3 separate regions of the Homo sapiens genome follow, and all the other regions are linked to region 1. Evidence: promoter capture Hi-C in 16 types of primary human blood cells and fetal thymus (Javierre and others, 2016). All regions are on one chromosome and are shown on one strand. Each heading gives the region's core, a stretch centred on a gene start or on the middle of the fragment in contact. The rest is flanking DNA. Distances are from core to core; before and after follow the strand shown.

What was found. Contacts are between HindIII fragments. The CHiCAGO score rates a contact against its expected background, and 5 or more counts as called.
Region 2: a contact is called between the fragment with the promoter of DAG1 here and the fragment with the promoter of QRICH1 in region 1, in 6 of 17 cell types (M1 macrophages, endothelial precursors, M0 macrophages and 3 more). The highest score is 7.7, in M1 macrophages.
Region 3: a fragment that was not itself captured here is called in contact with the fragment with the promoter of QRICH1 in region 1 in 3 of 17 cell types (naive CD8 T cells, naive CD4 T cells and total CD8 T cells); the score reaches 5.3 in naive CD8 T cells.

Annotation. Positions count from the first base shown.
Region 1 is chr3:49,092,810-49,095,509 of GRCh38, reverse strand. QRICH1 (glutamine rich 1) reads left to right here and starts at 1,439. Exons shown (of 10, transcript NM_198880.3): 1 at 1,439-1,598. RefSeq lists enhancers at 865-1,204, 1,315-1,434, 1,803-2,315 and a silencer at 1,555-1,804. The HindIII fragment of the contact is 6,132 bases long and covers 1-2,700 here.
Region 2 is chr3:49,469,017-49,471,716 of GRCh38, reverse strand. It overlaps DAG1 (dystroglycan 1), which reads right to left and starts at 1,450. Exons shown (of 3, transcript NM_004393.6): 1 at 1,284-1,450. RefSeq lists a silencer at 1,032-1,771. The HindIII fragment of the contact is 13,712 bases long and covers 793-2,700 here.
Region 3 is chr3:48,682,997-48,685,696 of GRCh38, reverse strand. It overlaps NCKIPSD (NCK interacting protein with SH3 domain), which reads left to right. Exons shown (of 13, transcript NM_016453.4): 1 at 1-60; 2 at 2,685-2,700. Among named protein-coding and RNA genes, the nearest start is that of NCKIPSD, 1.6 kb to the left of the region's middle. RefSeq lists silencers at 1-161, 1-274. The HindIII fragment of the contact is 1,161 bases long and covers 670-1,830 here.

The sequences.
Region 1 (2,700 bases), core at 190-2,689:
ACCTCTGCCTCCCGGGTTCAAGCGATTCTCGTGCCTCAGCCTCCCAAGTAGCTGGGATTACAGGCGGGCGCCACCACTCCTGAATAATTTTTGTAATTTCAGTAGAGACGGGGTTTTGCCAAATTGGCCAGACTGGTCTGGAACTCCTGACCCCAGGTGATCTGCCCGCCTCGGCCTCCCAAAGTGCTGGGATTGCAGGCGTGAGCCACTGCGCCCAATCAGCCTATAATTCTTTTTTATTTTTGAGACGGAGTCTCACTCTTGTCCCCCAAGCTGCAGTGCAATGGTGTGATCTCAGCTCACTGCAACCTCTGCCTCCCAGGTTCAAGCAGTTTTCCTGCCTCAGCCTCTTAAGTAGCTGGGATCACAGGCATGCACCACCACACTCGGCTAATTTTGTATTTTTAGTAGAGACGGGGTTCACCATGTTGGCCAGGCTGGTCTCAAACTCCTGACCTCAGGTGATTCACCCGCCTCGGTCTCCCAAAGTGTTGGGATTACAGACTTCAGCCACCGTGCCCGGCCCATTCGGCATATAATTTTTGAGTGCCTACTACGTGCCAGGCAAAGTGAGATGGGGCATACGTGCTGTGGTGGCCTTCCAAGTTCACGGGAGGGGAAATGGGTGACCAAGCACTGTATGGGAGCGGTCTCCCTGGGGCCTGTGCAAGACTGGAAGAGGTTCCTGACCCAGCCTGGGCCTCAGAAAACATTACTCTAACGAAGTGACTTCTGAAGGGAATCACGAAAGACTACGGGGAGTTTGCCAGGATAAGAGGAACAAGGGCAAAAGCTCCGAGGCAAAAAGAGTCTACAGCAGGCTGGAAGCCCTCTGGGGGCAGTGTAGGCTGCTGCTGAGGCCCGAGTGTGCCTGCAGCTTTAACGCCTTCCACATTTTCCCTGTATACAAACACTAGGCTACCCGGGGGCCCGCTTTAAGGTGGACCCAACTGCGGAAGGCTGAACTCAGATGGCAGCAGACAGCGGGAGTACCAGATGCTGACTCCTCCAGGAGGTGAGCAACCTAGAGGCTTCCCAGGCAGGGCACGGCTGGGGACGCCAGGCCCAGGACAGAAGTTTGTGGGGTCCACCTTAAGCGAGAGGCCGAGCCTGGCCAGGCCCCGCCCCGCGTGGGCGTGCTCGACCAAAGGAGGCTCTGGCGGGCGACGGAAGGTGGGTCCAAAGAGCTAGCTTGGAGCCCTAGCCTTCCGAGACTCCACTACTAGGCCAAGCCACGGCCCTAGCTCCGCCCCACATGGAGAGGCGTCCATGGGCGGAGCGAGCCGCTCCATACCCTAGGATCCACTATCCGCTCTAGCGGCCAGAAGCGCGGCCACCTTCCCCTGCTGAAGCGTTCACTTTAATTTTGGCCGGTAGGCAGTCCCAGATCTCGCGGGATCCGACGCCCCGATTATCGCGAGAGGAGCAATCGGCTCCTATTGGCTGTGAGGGTTGAATGTAAGATGGCGCCCAGGGAGCTGTGAGGAGAAAACCCTGTCGGTCTTGGAGCGACGACGGCAGAACCAGGGTCCCTGGCGGTGCGGCGGGGCCGGCGGGTGCAGCGGAGGCGGCGGCGGCGGCGGCAGTGACGTCGCCGGGTGAGGGCTCCAGTGCGGGTGGGGATGCGGCGAAGCTGTAGGCCTGAGACGGGGGGCCCACCCCACACAACGGCGGGCGGGGGCGGGCGGGCCACTACCGCTGGGCCCTGGAGAGTTCGGGGCGGCTCCGGAGCCGAAAACGTTCCTGGGCTAGCGCACCCCGCCCTGTGGATGGGGGAGGGGTGGCCCGGGGATTTGGGTGGGCGCGGCGCGAGATGGCGCGCCGGTGCGGGCGCGCGGCTGAGCCTGTTTTTACGCGCGCGCGCTGTGCGGCTCTCGGTGCGCGTGGCCGCCGACGTGCGCGTTCCCGGCCCGGATATCTCTGCTCTAGGAGCTGTGGCCCGTGGGCAACCGCGGCTTTCTGGAGCGCGCGCCCGTGACGACCCCCAGTTTTGGGGCGCGCGCTCTGATATCGGGTGGCGGTGCTGCCTCGAGAGCGCGCAGGAGGCTTCTGCTGAGCAGAGGGCCGGCCGCGGCTCGTTGCGCTGGGAAGGTTGAGGATTGGGTCCTTTCTGGTCTGGTGACGTTCCCGGGCATCCGTGGCCTCGGCCTGGAGAGAAACCAACCAGCTTTGCTGTCTGGCTTGCGGTTCCGCTCCTCTGTGAGGGGGGCGAGATTGCCCGTTCTCCTCGAAGAATGCCGTTACTTGAGGCCCAAGTACGGTGCGGGTGCTTGGGTAGGGTGTTTCTCTGCTTCGGAAACCAAGCCCTCTTGGTTTGAGAGGGCAGTGAGCCCCTTCGGATTTCCTCACCTTGTACTGGGCTTTCTGCCGGGCAGGGAAGGTTAATATTAGAAGGCCCTTGAGTGGTACCTGCTTATCTTTCATTAGAAACTAATACGTCCATAAGCGTAATTCATACACGTCACCTCTGTGCGCTCCGGAAGGGAATTCGCTTATGTGGCCCATGTGAACTCCGAGCTCTAAAATGCCAGTTTAAATCCTTAAACGCAGCTTTTCTTTTGCGTAAGTGGGAGGGGCTTACTTTATTATATTAAAGGCCCACCTTTGCCTCAGCCAAAAAGTTGGCCTTAAACAAAATGGAACAACCTGAGAATCAGTGCTTTACCTTTTTTGAAATTGCAGAAATCCCAGCAGAAATTA
Region 2 (2,700 bases), core at 201-2,700, 380 kb before region 1:
TTTTAAGAACAGTGAGGATTTGCACTGTGCCTCTTTTAACAAAAGCACATGTCAGCACAAGCTTTTATATCCCATAGGGTCTTCACATGATGGATCCAACTCCCTACTGAAATCTGATTTCTCCAAAATACAGGACACAGGCCATGAGCTCTTCTTCCTTAGTTCACAGCAAAAAAAACCCACAAAAGTTCAACTAAACTTCTCCATACTCAAACTATGGATTTTTATGCCTCCAAAATGTAGTACGGTTGAATTCTTTTTTAGAACAGGAACATTCCAAAATAATGTCTCTGAACTTAACTAAGCATAGAACCTGATAAAACTGCAATACCCCATCTACACCAGACTTTGCAAAACACCTGAAAGCACATCCAGCTCTTTATCTGGAATTATGTCCTATAAACACCACCTTCCCTTCACGGAGTCTGGCTTCTATGCCAGGAGTCACTTCTACTCGCTTATTTAGGGAAGCAGCAGGCTAGAATCTTAAGTTAGACTCTGCGCTATGAAGGTGCTGTCCCAGGCTCTTGCCTCAACCAGTCAAAACTTCATCGTCACCATTAAAACTAATTCTGAAGCAACTCGATTTACAAAAATAAGAACTTTTCAAGTTATAGAGATTAAAGGATGCATTTTAAGTTACCAGTTGAGTTTGTAGGAAACTAACTTAGAATTTATGGCAAAAAGATTCCAAGCCGAGACGACATTTTCTGTGGAGACACTATCCAAATACACTCGCAGGTGAACCAGGTCTGCCAAATACAAAGTGAAAAGGTAGTAAGTAAACAAGCTTCCAAAGGAGCTCAAGTAAGGATGACGGAACCCACCAAGGCTCTGAGCAGCTCTGACAGAGCAGTGGCGGCAGCGGTGCCCTTCCCTGCCTCTAGCGGGGCTCGACTCCCCACAGTCGGAATCCGGCCCAACTGGGCCACAACCCCTATTGGAAGCCAGGGAGGCGGCCCGCAGGCGGCTCACGACCGCGGCCAAGGCGCAGGCTCCACGTTCCCGGGAGCGCGGGCCGAGCTAAGGCCTGGCCCATCGCCGCGGCGCGCGGCCCGGGCCTTGCAGCCGAACGCTCCGAGCCTTTGCCTGCGGGACCCAGAGCAAAGGGGCGGCTCCGCCCGGGCGGCACCGCCTCCTCACCCACAAGGACGTCCGCGGCCGTGTCCCCGCCCCGGGCCGAACAGCGAGCAGCAGCAGGTGTTCCGCGGAAGGCTCAGCCGGCAGCAGGGATGGGGGCCCAAGCAGCCAGGCACAGCGGATAGGGCGGGCGGTGCACTCACCCAGCGCCGGCGGGAGGACCGCGGCAGGTGTTCGCTCCTCCTGGCCCCAGGACGCCGCCACCGCCGCTCCCCGGGGATTCGGCGCGAAGCTGCCGCCGCCGCCACCGCCAAGCCTAAGAGGCGCGAGCGCCGCGCCGCAGCCTTCGCGCGAGCACGTACCGGGCGGTGAGAGGGCGCTGAGCGCAAGGGCGGGGCGCGCGGCCGGAGCCTAGCAACCGCCTGACACGCGAGTGTTGCAGCCAATCCAGCGGCCAGCTCCGCGCGGCGCCGACTGGCTGTCCGCGCGCCGCCGGCTTCTGCCTGCGTCGGCCGCTCCGCAGCGCGCCGCACCCGCGCGCAAGCCCCGCCCCGGCCAGCACCTCTCTGCTCATTGGCTAGCCACTCCCCCGCCCTAAAAGTCACGCCCCATTATGGAAGCCTCGCCCCCACGGCCAGGGAAGTCCGTCCCGGGACACACCCCGGCGGTCGGTCCCGGTCACTCGGAGCCTTCAGAACCAGTAGTGTGGGGGAGGGGCTCCCCGCCCAACTTCAGGCCTTTGGGCCTCTAAGACTAATCAAGGGACAGTCAGGACTGCGAACTGGCCCAGCAACTGGCCACCCGTCGACTGCGTTCAGCCCTCCTTATTTCCTTCGAATGCAAATCAAGGGGTATTTCTAAGCCATGAGAACAATCAGGAAGCGTTCTCTCAATTGCAAAGGATGAAAGCCTTGCTGCCCGGCCCTTACACGGATGGGAGACTGAGGCCAGGGACAGGAGGAGCGGGAAGCTAGCTCATCTCCTAGAGCCTCGCCCACAGCAGGCTGGGGAGTCGGAAAGCGCCTCAGGCCTAACCCTCGTCCCCTCCCCCTGCCTGGAACACTGGAATCCGACGCCTGCTCTCCTGCCCAAAATAGCTCTAACTCGCAGGCGCTGGTCACTCACTCCTAGTGGCCTGCATTCTTTTGGTGGGGGAAGAAATAAGAGAGGGGGGTTGCTGCCTGGAACATTCAAGGGGAGGGTCCTAAGGTAGCTCTAGCTCTCCCCAGGACTTAACCTGCAGCCCCCCACCCCAAAAGCCCCAGACTTCACAGTTACTGAAACTGACAGTTACCGGATGGGTCTGGGAATGAGACCCGTGGTGGGCTCTGCTTCTCATCCCCACACCATGCGCAGGATGGGTCCATTCCCTCCTTGGCCTGTGGCCAGGCTGGAATTCCAGGCCTGCACTCTTGACAGCAAGCACATTCTGAACACAGAACTGGCTGCCACCAGCCATGGTTTCCTCCCTGGATCCCGGAGAGCTCTGGGGCTCCCTGGCTTTCCCTCCCTCCTCAGGAGCGTCTGGGAGATGCAAGTTGCAGAGATAAGAAAGGAATGCCCCATCTCCCAAAAACATACCTTTTTGCAATTATCTATACTTCAGTGTCTCGGCTCCAA
Region 3 (2,700 bases), core at 1-2,500, 410 kb after region 1:
GCGCGGGCGCGCAGTGGTGAGACGGGCTACGTGCCGCCAGCCTACCTGCGCCGCCTGCAGGTGAGTGCGCCCCTTCCCGCCCGGCCTCCGCGCCCCTGGGGCAGGACCCCTTCACAGCCCCGCGGAACCGACCCAGGGACCCCACCCTCTCCGGGACCCGAGGCCAGGACCTCTATCAGACAGGGAGTTTGAGAACCTGACCCTGAGACCCCCGGACCCACGGGGACTGAGACCCCAAGTGTCAGCATCACCCACAAAAGACCAGGCCCTTGACAGACCAACTCCCGATCGACCAAAAGCCTAACTCTGGGACTGAGACTCCTCAGGACCCCAGACCCTTCAGTATCGAGTCCGCCATCTGAATGGCGACCCTGAGCCCCACCGAATCCTGGCCAATTATTCAAATCCCTGAGACCCCAGATCCTTAATATGCCCCTTCTCTGGATTCCTAGGACCCCACAACCAACCTCCCTCCCTCCCTCCCTCCCTCCCTCCCTCCCTCCCTTCCTTCTTCCCCCAACCCCGCGCCTTGCCCCCCGTTGGAGCCACCACTGAGACCTGGACCACCTTGGACACCACCTGTTTCCCTAGCCATTCTCCAGGTCCTCAACCCCCCAACTTGGACCCTAGAGCCATAGACACCTCCATCCCCTATGTAACACCCAAGCTTTGGTACTTCAGTGTCTTTCACTAGCCTGTGTTCAGCCACCCTCTAAGCTCTTCTTAAGTCTCTACCAACCTTATTTGAACCAAGGACCCATGCCCCTGCTGACACTGTCTGCTCCACTCCCCAACCCTGACTTCTCAAACTTTCTTGCTTTGAAAATGGGTTCCATCCCTACTTGTTCCCAGCCTGGAGTGGGGACTGCTCACATTGTGATGAAGTGAGTTCTTATAGCTTCTCCTGGTCTGATCGTGGCCCCATTTCCTTCCAGTGGAAGCTGCAGTCCCAGTTCCTGTTTCCCTAAGAGTAGCCCTGCTGCGGGGGTTGGGGTGCGTATCTCCAGCTGGTCTATTCTGACCACAGGGGGAAGAAGGGCCCAGAGCTGCCGGGCCTGTGCCAGACACCCCCGCCCCGTCCTAGTCCTTATCCTTTAGGAAACATCCTGTCCCAGCCCAGTTCAGGACAGAAATAACGGGATAAATTTGGAAGTGTCATCTGGTCTTACCAGGAAGGATGGGCCCTGGGGGCCTAGGGGCTTCCTCATAGACCCTTGGCGTGATCCCATCTAGGAGTGCCAGGGGTGGGAGTGGGGGCCGTGGACACCATGGCTGCTGTGTGTCAGACCCAACCTTTTTGGGAATGGGGTCTCATTGAAGGCCTCTGAGGAAAAGTCCTGTCTCTTCCCCTACTGGGCATAGGTCAAGGGCCTGTGAGTCCCCTGCCGCCAGCCAGGACCAGTGGGGCAAGGTGTTTGGGGAGGGCAGAGAGGCTACCATCTTCTCTGTCACTGTCTGTTTCTTTCTGCGTGTCTCTTTCTGTCTGGATTGCTGCGACTCTGTGCCTCTCTGCCTGTGTCGTTCCGACTCCACATGTGTGTGTTTTTGTTTCTTCCTCCGGCTCCCCCCACACTCTGGCTTTGGCTCTGTTTCTTTCTGCGTTGTTTCCCTCTGTCTGCCTCTCCGTTCCTCTCTGAGCTCCTCTCTTTCCCCATTCCTTTCTTTCTCTCTCTCTCTGTGTGTGTGTGTGTGTGTGTGTGTGTGTGTGTGTGTGTGTCTTCATGTCTTTCTATCCCCCTGTCTCCTCTCCCTGCACTCTGGCACACCTCATACCACCTGGAGGGCTTTGCTGACCTCTGTGCCCACCTGTCTGTGCCCATCAGGGAAGCTTCTCAAACCCATGGTGGAATGAGTTCATCTCAGCTCCGGGACTCCTATGTAGCCTGATGGACTACGTGTGCCAGGGCCAGGGGAGGGCTGGGGGTAGCTGGTTTGATAGCTGCTACCCTACACTCCCCATGTCAGATAGGCAGAGTAGACTGGATCCCTGGAATGTTGGGGATGGCAGTACAGAGCCTGGAACAGGGGCTAGGCCCCTCTCTCATGTTTATCCTTTGCCACAAACACAGAACTGCTTCCCAGGGTGGGTTTGGAAGCTTACTGAGACATCTTGTGGGGATGAGGGCCAGCAGCAGGGTTGGGGAGGGCAAGTCCCTTTGACCCATTCTCAGCTCCCAGGGCTTACAGAGGGCCCTTACAAGGACAGGGCTGTTCTGGGGTATGACCTTGGTTTTGTGAAAGATCAGCAAGATGCAGAGTGATGTATTAAGGATTCCAGATACTGGAGACTTCCTGTTTGGCATCTCAACCTGGGCTCTGAGCCAAGACCAGGGATAGACGAGGTATGCGCTCCTGGCTGCAAGCTGGGAGCCCCTGGGCTATGTTTTTGCTTTAGACCTCTGATTTTCAGAAACATCTTAGCCAAGAGCCTTGCTGTGGGGTAAAATCCTGATCAGGACCTAATATGTAATGTGGCAGCATGGGGGTCACCCTGTGCCTCAGCTCCCTGAGTGATACAGTTTGAGAACCCCATTCCATATTCTGGTTCAACTTTTTGTGCTATGTCTAGCATTCCAGGCTTTCGCTATATTGGTTCTCTGCCCTGGGTTCTATCTCGGGCTGGGCCTGGGCTGAGCACCTCCGTTTGGCCTTCAGGTCTAACTGCTGTCCCCTGCCCCCCCCAGGGCCTGGAGCAGGATG